2 separate regions of the Homo sapiens genome follow, and region 2 is linked to region 1. Evidence: promoter capture Hi-C in human tissues and cell types (Jung and others, 2019). All regions are on one chromosome and are shown on one strand. Each heading gives the region's core, a stretch centred on a gene start or on the middle of the fragment in contact. The rest is flanking DNA. Distances are from core to core; before and after follow the strand shown. Region 1 holds the start of ARHGEF38 (Rho guanine nucleotide exchange factor 38). Region 2 overlaps ARHGEF38 (Rho guanine nucleotide exchange factor 38).

Evidence for each region. Contacts are between HindIII fragments. The study calls those that stand out against the background at their distance.
Region 2: a fragment that was not itself captured here is called in contact with the fragment with the promoter of ARHGEF38 in region 1 in 1 of the 25 tissues and cell types used here (H1 embryonic stem cells).

What each region holds. Positions count from the first base shown.
Region 1 is chr4:105,549,808-105,557,585 of GRCh38, forward strand. ARHGEF38 (Rho guanine nucleotide exchange factor 38) reads left to right here and starts at 2,813. Exons shown (of 14, transcript NM_001242729.2): 1 at 2,813-3,154. The coding sequence starts at 2,959. It overlaps LOC105377352 (a long non-coding RNA gene), which reads right to left and starts at 2,477. Exons shown (of 5, transcript NR_188418.1): 1 at 2,386-2,477. RefSeq lists enhancers at 5,421-5,970, 6,522-7,071. The HindIII fragment of the contact is 7,071 bases long and covers 1-5,353 here.
Region 2 is chr4:105,597,367-105,604,792 of GRCh38, forward strand. All of the region lies in intron 2 of ARHGEF38 (Rho guanine nucleotide exchange factor 38), which reads left to right. Among named protein-coding and RNA genes, the nearest start is that of ARHGEF38-IT1, 39 kb to the left of the region's middle. The HindIII fragment of the contact is 5,874 bases long and covers 2,499-7,426 here.

The DNA of each region.
Region 1 (7,778 bases), core at 1,563-4,062:
TAATGCTGCCTTGAACAAGAGAAGGGTTCTGTTGGCAAAGAATAGCATGGGGGTAGGAGGCGGTAAAAATGAAGACCAAGTAAGCAACCAACAGTGTCTGCCTGATTCCCTGATTGAATAGAAGATTGTTCTGAGAGAATTTATCTATCATTCTTAAATTTTACATTCAAAATAATGTGAATAAATAAAATATGTATTTACCACTGAACTCATAGTAGCTGTTATGTATCTTAATAACTGGTGAAAATAAAAAACATAGTCAGGTGCTGTATAATGATGTTTCAGTCAAAGATGGACTACATATACAATAGTGGTCTCATAATATTATAATACCATACTTTTACTGTACTTTTCTATGTTTAAATACGTTTAGAGATACAAATACTTACCATTGCATTACAATAGCCTATGGTACTCAGTACAGTAACAGGTTTATAGCCCAGGAGCAATAGGCGGTACCATATAGCCTAGACATGTAGTAGGCTATACCATTTAGGTGTGCGTAAATGCATTTCATGATGTTCACACAATGACAAAATTGCCTAATAATGCTTTCCTCAGAATGTATCCTTGTTGTTAAACAATACAGGATGGTATAATGAAGCTACGTTTAAAGAAAATATATTCCATAATGTTCACACAATGACAAAATTGTCTAATGATGCTTTTCTTAGAATGTATCCTTGTTGTTAAACAATACAGGGTTGTATAATGAAGCTATTACAATAAGTTCTGCTATAACACTTGTTTTGAAAATACAAATTTGTTCCAACAAGATTGACATATTAGGGAATTGTTTGAACATAACACAATTTCGCATTTGTTTGTGTGTGATTTTGTCTACTTGAAACACTAGTCGAATGCAGAAAACTACCCAGATGACCTGAGCCACATAAGAATACACAAAACTCACACAGGTACAATCCTCAAACCTTACCAGTGACCTCAGTTCACTGCCTGAGTTATGAGCCACACCCATCCACATCTGGTGTAATAAATTTCCCCCGATTTCAAATAATGCTTCTTCTGCCATTTCACAACCCTTAAGCTGTGACCTTTCTGAGGCCCATTTCCACAAGCAAATGCCGTGTCTTTTTCAAGATAAAGGGTTATATTTGCTGTAGTATTTATGCATTTCTTAAGCATTTATCATGTGTAAATTCTTGCTACCATTTTTATTAGGTCTTGATCTGATTTTTATGGTCCATTGACAAAGTTTCTGAGTGCTCTGTCCTAAACCTCATGTTACCCATTAAGTCCTGTAGTTTTAATTGAACTTTTTTTTTCAGTGATACCGTATCTAAATAAATCCCTGGTGGTTACCAGGTGAATATAAATAAGTGTGTATATGCATACATACATTCATACATATATAATATTCGAACACAATTGAGGCATTTTGACATAAATCCAAAAAATTCCTTTTATATTTTAGAGGTAAATAAGCCTTTAAAAGTATTTATTAAATGTACTTGGGAGGATTTATTCAAAAAAGACTATCAATTATATTAAATAAAAGCCATTCAATACGCCAAGCTATATATAGATGTCTCCATAGTGGGTGAAGATGTGTCATTTATCTTTTAAGATAATTATGCAAACTATATTGAGCACACACATCCTGAGCTGGGAAATGACTTTTACATCTTTCTCCTCATTTATAAATCTTTTCCAACAGAAGTTATGCAAGATTCAGACTGGTCAGCACAGAGCTGGATTTTGGTGGTCCCTTTACAATAGGAGAGAATCCATTTTCCTCCTTAGGGTCTTTCTTTTCTTTAACGAAGGCATACAGAGCACTCAGCACATTCCCAGAGCTTCTTAGAATTTTTCCCTTGAGAGATCTCAGGAAATATGAGGAAAAACAACTTCAAAAAAATTAATGAAAGGCCTATCACTGTCTGCCTTTCTCTCTTTTAATCCCTGCCCTATCCTTTCTACTTTCTAGAAGTGTAGTGCCCCTTCAGTTTCAAACATTTTTCCTCTCCTTAAATTCCCAAGGTGGGATGCCCTTTTCTGGCACTCCGTCTATGAAAGGGACAGGGAAAAGATCTTATAGAAACTGAACCCTGACACGGGGCTTATTTTCCTAAGGACCAAAACATAAAAGGACAGGGTGGGACCATGGAAGGATTAATTTCAGGCAAGGGCAGCCTGTGGAGAGTGAGAAATCTGAAAAGGCTCTAGGCTTCTATGGGCATTCCCCTCCACTTCTTCTGCCTGCTGCCAGATGACTCTCACATGTGAATCCTTATTTCCTCAGGAATGCGGATCAGGGTTTGGCAAGTATGTTTTCAGTAAATAATTGCTGAATGTTCAACGCTTAAAGGCAGAAGCATAACTTTGAGTGTGCACAGTAATCACTGAAAATGATTCTGTACTCACCGTTTTGATGCAAATGCAAATTCTCATAGCCCCTGCACTGACTCCGTGGGTCACCTGTGAGTAACTCTAGCCAAAAGCCACGCACAAGCCCTGGTCTGCCTCCAGGCAGCAGACCACAACACAGTGCCCTGAGTGCACCTGCACACACCCATGGGCACACATTAAACCCATAAACGGCGGGTTATGCTAACGTGTACTTCCTTCCTCACTGCCTCACCTTGTTCATTTTCCTTTTTCCCCACCCCTCACCCCATACAATAGGATTTTTGTTTGCTTCAGTAGCATGTGACAGCACAGTCCCTGCTTTGCCTAGCTCTGTGCTGCAAGTCTCTCAGGTAACAGGTGGCAGCTTCCCCTGTTGGATTCTAGGTTTAAAAAAGAATGACCTCATGTGGGTGGAGCTCTGGGACTTCGTAGAGGTGGTGGCAGTCACAGCCAGGTAACCCTGGAGTGAAGCGGTTTAGTTAGAAGGGAGCAGATAAACTCGTCACTCTAGTAGCTTTAACCCTCACCCTGAGGCACCTTAGCAATCAGCCATTGCCTGCAAGCCTCCAAAGCTTGTCTTTGCCTAATATGGAGCCCAAAGAAGCCACTGGGAAAGAAAACATGGTCACCAAGAAAAAGAATCTGGCCTTCTTGAGGTCTAGACTCTATATGCTGGAGAGAAGGAAGACTGACACTGTGGTTGAGAGCAGTGTTTCTGGGGACCACTCTGGCACCTTGAGGAGGAGCCAATCTGACAGGACCGAATACAACCAGAAATTACAAGGTAACCAAAAAGAAATCAATTGTCCCAGTTACTGCACTCCCAGCTCCATTTCTGCTACGTTTCCAATTGCAAAGAAAACACACAAGGCAGAGGGGAAAATTGAATACCACCTCTCCTTCCCACAAAATAAGAAGATGAAAGTAAATGTGACCTATAAATTATAGGGAAAAAAATTTATTACGTGATTCAATGTTAAAGAGTCAATTCCGAATTACTCTTAATATTGCTGTGTTTTTCTTTTTTTTTTCCTGGTGAGGGTAATCATTTTTCTTCTAACTTCCTCTTTTCTTCTCCCTTCTCTACCCAACTTAAGAAGTGGGAAACACTGGAAAGCAAATGAGTTAGAAACCTACAAAAGATTGTTTATCTCAATGGGTAGATATGTGATATTACACCATGAGATATATCTAGGTAATGGTACTGAACTATGATTGTGGTTATCTTAAATAGGGGCATGAAACTATAATCGTGTCTGTGACAAAGAAGGAATGTTATAGTCAGAGAGACGGTATAAAAAGATTTGCTGAAATTCACTTAGGTGATTATTTCCTTTGAGTAAATTGAATAATACTCAAATATGGTAAGAAATGTTTAGCATGCTTATTTTGAATGACATTTGAGGAAATAACTTCAGTTTATTTTGTGATGGTACAAAGATAATTTGGCACAGTTATGATAGCACATCATTTGTTTCAGGGCCTTAATCTATATCCTGTCCTATCTATCCTTTCTTTCTCTCCTGTTTCCTGAAGGTCATTTGTTCTAGTAAAATTTCATTTTGATGTTGATATTGGGCAGCATTTTAAGTCTTTTCTTCGGTACTTGTTATGTGGTCCTCCAGAACTTGCCTCTCCTGCTTTTAGCACAAGGTGTGTCTGAACTCTCATCATCCCACTGTGAGCTGTCGTTTTGGATTTAAAAACTGTGATGAGGTCAGAAAGACCGATAGGACATGCTTATATTTAACAAATCTCTTTCCACAAATATGAGCTTAGATTTAGTTATGCAAATTAATTAAGTTAAATAAGTTAAATTAAATGCATTTAAATTAAATCTAAAAATTATTACTATAAGTTAATGTGTAAAAATAAAAAAAAAATTACCAGTAGTTCAGCACTAAAGCACAGCATCAATCTTATCCTCAAATACTTTTTTTTTAAAATGAGGGAGAGCATTGTTTAATCTTTGAAATTAATTTTTCTCCAAGCAATAGATACATTGGAAAGAATGGATGTCTTAAAATTTCAACTTTTATTTTAGATTCAGGGGGTATATATGTGTGTTTGTTACTTGCGTATTTTGTGTGATGCTGCGATTTGGGGTACAAATGATCTCATCACCTGGGTACTGAGCATAGTACCCAGTAGGTGGTTTTTCAGCCCTTGCCTCTGTCCGTTTCTCGCCACTCCAGTAGTCTCCAGTATCTATTGTTGCCACCTTTATGTCCATGTATGTCTAATGTTTAGCTCTCACTCATAAGTGAGAACATGCAGTATTTGGTTTGCTGTTCCAGCATTAATTTGCTTAGGATAATGGCCTCCGGTTGTATCCATGTTGCTGTAAAGGACATGATTTTGTTCTTTCTTCTGGCTGTGTAGTATTCCATGATGAATATGTACCATGAGAATTTAAAATCATACACATTTAGTTTCTAAACCTGGTTCTTCAACTTACTACCAATTAGAACTTGAGCAAATTACTTGAAATATCTGAGCCTCAATTTTCCTGTCTGTGAAAGTGGGACTAATGATACTTGCCACATAGTGTTGTTGGGAGATTGAAATTAGATAATTACAAAACATCTAGTATACTGGCTGATAAATTTTAGGAATAATGGGTACCATAATGATAAAACAGAACTTGCCCAATATTAATCGAAGTTTGTATACCTTATTTCTCTTTTTCAATTCTTTTTTGTCCTTTGATAAAGAGACCACATCTAGAAATTCAGGAAAAGCCCATTGCTTTATCCCTAATGACATGTTTTTTCTGTCTGAGTTTCACTAATTCAGCATCTATCAGAGTCTCCATTAGCAAAATAAAAACAGAAAATAATTTTTGCTATTCACAAATTTTTGCTTACTAAATTTTCCTAAAAAAATAAGTCTATGACCACACAAGAGAGCAGACATGGGTTGGTTACTTTGCAGAAGACCTCAGACTTCTTACGCACTTCATTTGATTTGTGGCTTTCCTGTGCTCTGTTGGATTCTTTGAAGGTGGAAGGCAAAACTCAGCAGTTAATACATGCTTCTAGTCTGTGCTTGAGAAAAATCACCAAGAAGTATAGAGGAGCACATAAGCCATAAAGATAGGCTGGCCTCCTGAGAAGTAACATCTTAAAAACGTAACCCTTAAAAGAATCCAAGTCTGATTATCGAACGCCTAATAGAGCTTTTAGCATGGTTCGACTAGAACAGGGAAGGCGACAAGGGAAGGCATTTTCTCATTAATGTTCAAAGCAATCAGTTCTGTGCGTTTGTTCTCTGGCCTGTACGATACCCATTATTATGCAGATGAGTCCTAAATCACCTTAAGAAGCTCTTTATTATTCAAATGCCGAGAGATTTTCCTCTCCCTTTCTTGGAACTGGTGGTCCCTGGGAGGCACTGAATAAACACCTGGACTGGTTAGAGCCCTCAGATAGATGGCCTAAAGCTCTTGTGAGGTCAAAGAGTGCTTTCAAATACTGGAATTTCTGGCAACACCACATTCCTCAAATTATTTAGCTGGTTATTTAATTAGTTATTTAATTGGTTGTCCTTCAATGCTATATTACCTGAGTAAAATTCACTGCTCTAACTCTCTGGGGAAGCAAGTTCTCTGGGTTCCGTAAAATGTAAGATTTTTCTTTGGTGCTCTTGAGCTTGTCTTTTAACTCATGATACCTAGTCTATCTGTTCAATTCAATTTCTCACATCACTTTAGTAGCATGAAACTTAAGTTGTAATAACAATTTTAAAAATGGTACACTGGCTGAATTAAAACGATAGAACATGGCTCTAACCAGGACATCCTAAAACCTTTGCAGAAGATTGTGATCACATCAACATAGTCATTCCTACTAAGCCTGGAGTTGTATAATAATAGAAAGGCCACCCTTAGGCTCCCTTACTCCTTGAACAGATTAATTCAGTTGACTAGCATTTATTGAATATGTTATACCTTGTTCTTTGAAATTAATTTTTCTCAAGGCCCTTGATACATTGGAAAGAATACAAATTGTAAAATCATACACATTTGGTAAATTGACATTTATTGAATGTTTTAGATGCTGTGTCTTGAGGGTTACAATGAACAGCAAAAACAGAATATGTGCCAGGAATTACAACTACAAAATCATCAAGAAAACATGTCTGACCTTTACTCCAAAGAGGCTCAAAGTCTGGTTGGGAAAGATAAGACAGGTAAACAAATAAATACAATAAAGTGGCATGATAGAAGTGGAGGTAGGATCAGTGGGTCCACAAAAGGAGGAAACGGTCTATTCAGGACTGCATGAAGGAGGTTGTCAGAAAATGGTGTCTCTAAGAAATGGTAAGGGTAGGGATGAGGGAAGGTACAGGTAAGAGAATGGCATTTTAACCTCTTCACTGTATTTAGCTCTGTCTGAAATGGTTTTTGTTTCCTTGTTTATCACCTGTTATTGACTGTTGTTCCCCTCCCTTTTCTCTCCCTCCCCGCTCATACACCATGAAAGAAACCCTATCTGTCTTGTTAACTGTTGCATCTCAGCAGCCCAGAATACAGTAAACACTCAGTAACTGTTAAATAGAGTGAATGACTTGAATGATCAGGCCCAAGCAGGAAACTGGTGTGAAGAAAGACACCATGGCCTGAAATAAGAGCCATTGTATTTATCTAAATATGTGAGGACACATGTTTCTATCAGAAAGATGATTCTTCAGTTAAATGAACATCAGAGATTAAAATGTACAGAATTTATATAATAAGTAATTCTTAGTGGAAGCCTGTTTCATTCCCAACTCGACCTTTCAGAGCACACAACAACCATATTTCAAAAATTCCTCTTCTATTAGTGACAAGAGCCATCTTAACTTCCACTAGCTCAATTCCTCATTTCCATTCTACTGGGAGCCATAGAAATTACCTAAATACAAGAAATTTAGTGGTTGAGTTGTAAAAACTCAGAAAGGGTTTCATAAATACTTATATACATGATCTCTACATTTGAAATATGCCTAATTTAAATAGTTATACAGAACTGTGTCTGTGCATATGCAGATATATATGTGTATATATATGTGTGTATATATATATATCTCCAGTATGTAGATATAGATATACATGTATGTACTTGTATGTGTTCGTGTGTGTACTTGAGACACTTTTTTGCAATGATTAGACTTTTTATTGAAAGTTACTATAAAATTTGAAGAACAAAAAGAACAAAAGTTTACTAACATTCAGGAGTCTTTTCTGAAAACCATATATGAATTATATCACTGACATTATAGGTTTCCTCTCAGTATGGGTACTATGGACTGAATGTTTGTATTCCTCTAAAATTCCTATGTGAAACCTAATCCCCAATGTGACAGTATTAGGAGGTGGGGTCTTTGGGAGGTAATTAGGTATTGAGGGTGAAGCTTTGGTGAATGGG
Region 2 (7,426 bases), core at 4,186-6,685, 50 kb after region 1:
TTTTCTCCAGCTGTCACCTTCACTAAAAGACATTTACTGTTTCCAGGAAGAATGGTCTTTCATTTTTGCTTAATAGGCAACCATGGAATTCTCTCTCTCTTTCTTTTTAAATCACCCAGCTACCCTTCCCATCTCTGTTCACTTCCAGAATTTTCTGATTGTAGTCTGGGCCTGAAAACACATTTCATCTTGGCTCACTGACCACAACTTTCTTAAAGTTGGCTACTCTCTAAAACTCTGTCTCTTCCATGAAATTGCCCTGAACTCAGTGGAGTTAAGGTATTGATTTCTCACAGACATGTCTTATTTATGCAAACAATTGCCTTATGCCATTTATAATATGTTCTACCCCACAACATCAAAATCCAATGCACACATTCTATTGTTTTGCAGGATGTTAGCCTTGGGGGAAACTTGGTAAAGGGTACATGGATCTCTCTGTTTCAATTTTTTTTACAACTGCATGTGAATCTACAGTTAATTCAAAATAAGAACTTTAATTAAAAACATAATGCCCTTATTTTCTCTATCTTCCTCCCTTTCTCTCTTTAAATTATCCTTTTAAATACACATGTAAAATTTTACATGTAAGGATAAAATTTTTCCTCTGATCCTTTACCTTGTTTACTCTCCCAAACTTTCCAATTTTTTTTTTAATATATTGTGTTTTCAGAGGGGTAGAGACTACGTTTAAGAATAAGGGTACACATTCGGTTGTTTGGAAGAAATTTTATGATGTATAAAACAACCTCCTATGTATCTTGGCTGTTTCTCACGCTATGCTTGAAACACCAGAAATCCATGTAAACTGTAAAACAAACTGATGAAAAAGCCAAGTCCCTTTCTCCACTTCCATCTCCTATTCGATCCAGCCCCACCCACTGTAGAGTAAGGCAGTTCCTGAGGTCAAACTCCTCAGTCACAAGACCTCACAGACTTTAGTGAGTACAGATATCCAAACCAGGCTGATAATTCCAAAGTAAAAGATGCCCTAAAAGCCAGAGAAAAACAGGGATTTTGTTCACTACATTAAATAAAAATCTGAGAAAACCAGAGCAATTCCTGCCAAGTATAATTAAGATGCTGGGAGAAATGACTCAAAAGAAATATACCTGCCTTTCTCATTCTACTTTGTATTGGCCTTTCTGAACTAAGGTGCTGACTTGAAAATGTTATACTCTTGCTGGAAGTCTGCTTTAACTATCAATACAAATATTCTTCAATCCTTTACAAATACCGATTTTCATGAAGAATAAGATACATTACAACAAAAAATCCTGTAATCTGTATGACCAGGTTAGAACTCCATTTTTTTTTTAATCAAAGACTTGATTTTCACACTTTCTGTGGAATCCTAGCATTTATTATATAGTCTGGGCCATTGTTTCTCCATAATAAGGCCAGATACCTGAGGTCTCATAAAGTCAGAAAAAAAAAACTCAATAAAATTTTTCTTGATTTTATGTAAGTGTGTTAATAAGGGCAGTTCCTATGTGTTGGAGGTTAAAAATGTGAAATGTTAAATTTAAAAATAAAAGTCACAGTGTTGCCAGCCACAATGTGACTGTGTTAATACATAATATCTAACTGGCCTCTTTCTCAAGTACTGACACTGAGTCATCACACTTCACTTACTTTCCCATTTTCCCCTGGAGGGACGTTTCTGTTTTGTCAACCTGGAAAACACATAGTTTGCTGTCATATTGGATTCAGATTTAGTTGGGTATGAAAGTGATACATCAATATTCTAGTATGTGAATTTTCTTTTTATGGGAAGGAAATCTCTTATCTTTGCTTGTTCAGAAAGTCTCAACTCAAAAAAATGAGGCATTCATTTTTATCCTTGTACTGTAGTTTTATGATAGAAACTGTCCTCCTTGTTGTTACATTTATAAGCACCTCCTAAGCTCCTTTTTAGGACAGCTTCAGTGCTCTCTAATTTTTATAATCTATAGTCCAGATCGATCAGAATCTGCTGGACCAAGTGAGGATAAAAATGAATGCATTTCCCAATTCAGTGCAGGATTTGGGATGCCCAGAATTGAAAAACATAGATGTGTTAAGCGGATCTGTTTTAATATCCAGAAAAGTCATCCCTCAGCCTGGGCAAGATGATCTTGTGCTCATTACTTTACTTCCCAGAATGGAGATGATGCATAAACCACAATTTTAATTTGCTTTTTTTTGTGCATGTGTAGAATAAGCGACAAAATTTCAGCGGCTGTGATTATTATAATATTGCCATAAACCTCTCTAATGAAATGCCAGCAATGTTGAGACAGCTTTATTCAGGCATAGGTCAAAATAGCCATGCATATCAGTACAGGGCGATAAATCCTGGACTCCAAACAATAACACTGGGCCAGAAAGGAAGCAGATATTAAGGAAACAATTATTTTATTAATATGCACTTATGTAAGGCACTTTAGACACAGGCAAGGTAGATGATTACATGAGTTAATTAACTAATTAATTTTAGGTCATTTAGAGTATGTAAGGACATATGAAACACATTTTTGTGTCATCAAAAAACTAAGAATCCCTTGTGAGAGGCCTCTTATAGCTATGAGAAGATAACTTGTAATGCAAAGTGATAATTGATAAGTGTAGACAATAAGTGCAATTGGAGTTCAGAGAAGGGACAGATCACTTCCAGACAGATTAACTGAGCTATATTTCATGAAGAATGTGATATTTTAGTTGAATATGCAAATTAAAAGATTAAATGTTTGTCAAGTGCCTATTGCATGCAGTGCCTGCTCCTGAGCTCTGCGTGGGTATCAAGAAAATTTATGTCACAGTCTTGCCCTAGTAAAGTCTATAATGTGGCCAAGAAAATGACTCATAAACATATAAAACACAAATAACAATCAAAGATCTATTTCAAGGCAACGCTAGAAGTGATCATGACAGAAGGCAGTCATGATTAGTTGTGCTCATTAGTTATGCAAACAATTAATTGCTTTAGACATTAGCAAAAGGAGGCACTCACTTCCCTGACCTGTTGGCAGCATTTGACAAAAACAGTGCCTTCTGTCTTCCAGGACTCTACACACTCTTTGTTCTCCCCCTACCACTCTGGCTGCTGCTTTTCAGTCTCCTATGCTGGTTAATCCTCATCTATAAACACTAAAGTAATTGAGGGCTCCGCCTGTGGTCCTCTTCTCTCTTTTGTCCACATTAGCTCTGTTGCAAATCTGATGTAGTTCATGGCTTTAAATCCCATCTACATGCTGGTGATTGGCAAATTTTTATCTCCAGCCTAGACATTTTCCCTGAAGTCCTCCTTTGTTTCTCCAATTCCCCACTCAAATCTCTACTTAATTGTCTACAAGCCATCTCCAATTTAACATGTTCAAAACTGAGTTCCTAATTTCCTCTTTAAAACTTTCTCCCTTGTATTCTATCTCATCTCAGAAAATGGCAGCTCTACCTTCCAGTTGCTCAGGCAAAAATCCCTGGAGTCATCCTTAACTTTTTCTTTCTCTTAATTCCCATATCAGATCGATCAGCAAATTCTTTAGTTCTGCCTTCAAAATTTATCCAGAATTAGACCATGTCTCATCTCCTTTCTTACTTCCACTCTGGTTCAAGAACCTATCAATAACCTCCTGGATTTTTACAACTGTCTTGTGACCCATCTTTCTTCCTCTACCCTGTTTCAACCAAGCAGCCAGAGTGATCCTTTTAAAATATCAGTCAAATTATGTCACTCTTCTACTCAAAACCCTCCAATGACTTCCCCTCTCACTCTGATTAAAACCTAATATACTCATGATGACCTACAAGGTCCTACAGGGGCTGGCCCTCATTCTCACTGATGTCATCTATTTTTACCTTCTGACCTCTTCACTCTTTCTTGAACAAACCAGGAGCACTGCTGTTTCAAGCTCTTTGTTCTTGCTGTTTTCTTTGCCTTGAATGCTCTTCCCCAAAATAACTTCATAGCTTGCTACTTCATGTCCGTCAAGACTTTACTCAGTAAATCCTTCCTTCACCACCTCAATCTATCTTAGACTGGATTCCTCAGAAGCAGAGCCTGATAAAAGGATTTTAGATGGTATTGATTTGGGAGATGATACCCTGAAATAGCAGTAAGGGAACAGGGAAATGAGACAGAGAAAGAAGACAATATAGGGTACATTAATGAGTGGGTTAACTCTGTGGCCAAATAGGGCTCATTTCCCACTGGGAGCTTGGGGAGGCTGTACAGAACACATTGTCCTATGGGAGGAGTATTTACCCTCCTCAATTCCTGTTAGACATTGGCTAAGGGATGCTCCTGGGGGTGTTAATTCCTGGCACTTCTAACCTTGCCTGTGTGTAGGCAGAGCAGGCATCAGCGGTCAGAGAAAGCCTTTAGGTAGAAAATCAGAGATGCTTACACCAGAAGGCCCTTCACATGTCCAAGAATATTCAGAATCAAGGAGATATAAGTAAGGCATTGCCAGTGCTGCAGCCTCCCCAAAATTCCGTATCTTCCTTTTGCTGTTTTTGTTTTATCCCTATAACATTTAACCCTATATTTAATACAATATATTTTCCTTACTTATCTTGTTTACTTTTTTCCTTTATGAATCATGAATTTTGTCTCATTTGTTCACTGCTATATCCCCAGCACCTAATACAGTGCTTTATACATGAGCAGCAATAAATACTTATGGATTGAAAAAGAAATGAGTGGATGAACAACTTCAGGATGGGTAAGTGATCCAGGAAGTCTTAGAGAAGGGATGGGATTTGCACTGAGTAAACATTGGTTAGGTGGAGGCAGGGTCAGGAGAGCAGCCCAGCAGTGGAGAACCACAGGAGCAAGAGTAGGTGAGCTAACATAGGGTAAGTTTAAAAATGAGTTAATTCCTTTTGATAGTAGCAGATGGTCCTTATAAAAATAAAAATAACTGGAGTAAGACGAGATAGGTCTTGTCCAGGCAAACTGTCAGACTGAGGAATTTGAGATCTTTTCTGTAGGCAACTGGGAAGAAACAAATGTTTTAAAACAGAGGAATTTAAACTGTGTTTTAAACCCAATTAAACACGTTTTAGGAAGACTAATCTGAAGTTATTAGTAAGCTGATTTGGGGAAATAGGAAATAAAAATGAGTGTAGAAGCTTTTTCAGAGGCAGAAACTGGGGCCTGATAGAGTTTTACAAAGTGACTAAGAAAAGGCTAATTGAATGTTGGAGATAGTGTGGTTAAGCTATCAAGATCAGGGTTAGGGATGACAGAGGGGAGAGCCTGCATTGACCCTAAGGTCTAGAGTCTGGAATTTAGTGGTACAGCTAATAGATGATGCACCCAAAGACCAGTCCCCACTCCAGGGCTCACGCTTGTTTCCATCATCCTGGGCATACCCAGCAAAATCCAAACTCGGCTGAGTTTTGAGAATCTTCTGGAACTCAGGTGACCTAACATTGATTTGGGCACCTTGGATTTTTGACAAAGGTAGTTGTTCAAAAAAAAGAGACAAGTGAGAAATTTTTAGCAATTTAAAAATGTTCCCAGAACTGGCTCTGCTTCCTAAAATCAGCACTCACTCCTGCTCCCTTCCTTATCCTTATTGTCTGTGGTTCTTGGGATTCATACTGCAGCTTAATGCTGTGGGGAGCATCAGTCTACCTAGTAGTGCAAAGATCCCGCCCTGTCTCCAGATAAGGACTCTGGCAGTCCCATCATTTTACAGATCAATGAACATCTGAAGCACTTGTCTAGTTTGGGAACTGCCTTTAGCAGCTAGCAGTTTGGTCAAAATTCATTCCACAGTTTTCCTAAAAACAACAATAATAGCTACAATATATTGAGTACTTATTAGGAGCCAAGCATTATTCTAAACAACTTGTTTATATTAGTTAATATAATCCTCCCAGCAACTTATGAAGCAGGTTTAAGTGTTCCTAGTTGACTAATGAGGAAACCAAGGAACAAAGAGGTTAAGTAACTTATCCAAAGTCACACAGCTGGAATGTGGCTCCTCCTTGACACCTGCTCACCAGCCAGCTCCTGACCCTCGGGAGGATGGGTGAGGAGAGGTAAGGGAGGGGGAAGGTGTACTTGAACTGGTACCATCATAGACTAGCTTTACATTCTTTGGATTTTCTAGATATAATAATGTGGCACTCTTACAGGTACTTTCCTGGCCTTTTTCAGGCTATTCCCATGATGGTGGTGTTGGGGAGATTCTCTCTTGAAAGCCACTAGATCCAATTGCATCTGTCCCAGTTGGTGATTTGCAACTCTTTCCTGAGCCCCGAGGCATCCAGAGTGTACCTTCATATTCTGCCATTCAGCCTTGCAGGCAGAGTCATAGATATGTTTATACTAGCTTCCACACCTCACAGTGTCTGCAGCTGGTCCATAGGAAGCATTCAAGCATCCCTGACCCCCAAGAACTGTGGGAGTACAGATTCATCCCAACATAGCCATCACTTTCCTACTGCCACAGCTCCTTTAGGTTTCTCAGGTATGAGCTCAACAGAGGTGACTTTGAAACAGTTCACTGAACTTTCCTTTGCAAGTTCTGCATATGGCAAACCATCTCCCGCTCACTTTGGTATCTGATAGCTAAGAAATTGATGCCTCAACTGAAATTCAGGCAGGAGGTGTTTGTTTTTTAACCTTTTTGGTATGTTTACTATCTTCATGGGATTCCATGGAGACATCCTGGGGAAGAAAACATGATATGGACTAGCATAGTATGGGCCATGAAATCAAACAGCTCCTGGAGTGCCATGCGGCAGGAGGCAAAGCAGAAAAGAGGTGCAAAGGCAAGGCCACGAAGAGCCCCATGCCAGAAGAACTGACTTCATGTGTGTGGGGAAGGGAAACCATTGGAAATTTAAACAGTAATGCTTAACTTAGATGTCATGATCAAGTGACATTCCCCAAGGGAAAAAATGTGGGAATTACAGTGGTCAAGTGATTAAATCCTGGAAACACCAGAATTTACAACACAGATGGACTTCATGGATATTTGTTCTATGTTGTACCAGTTTCGTCCGTAATTCCTGTGTTACTACTCAAGTCTACTGTCACACATCTGCCCACCACATCTTTTTGAGCCTTCTGTTTCAGCCTTCTTTTTTCCTTTCATTTATCATCTCTAGGAAATTTTTCTTTTCCTTTCTTTTGCAAAAGCATTTCCTCATTTTTCAAATTATTTTCAGTGAGTTCTAGTTTTTATTGTATTATTGAAGATTAGAACTTTGTAATTGTGTCATTAAGTCTGGAAAAAAATGGGTGTTAATGCTAAGTCATCCCTGATATCAGTAATTTCTTTCAGATATTGGGCCTAAAGGATATGGATGCTTGTTGAAAAAGTTATGAGTATTGCTATAAGCTCTCAGTTTGAGTATGTACAGGAAGAAGAAATAAACACACATGTACACACATTCACACACACCCTCACACAGTGAGTACTCAAGTGAT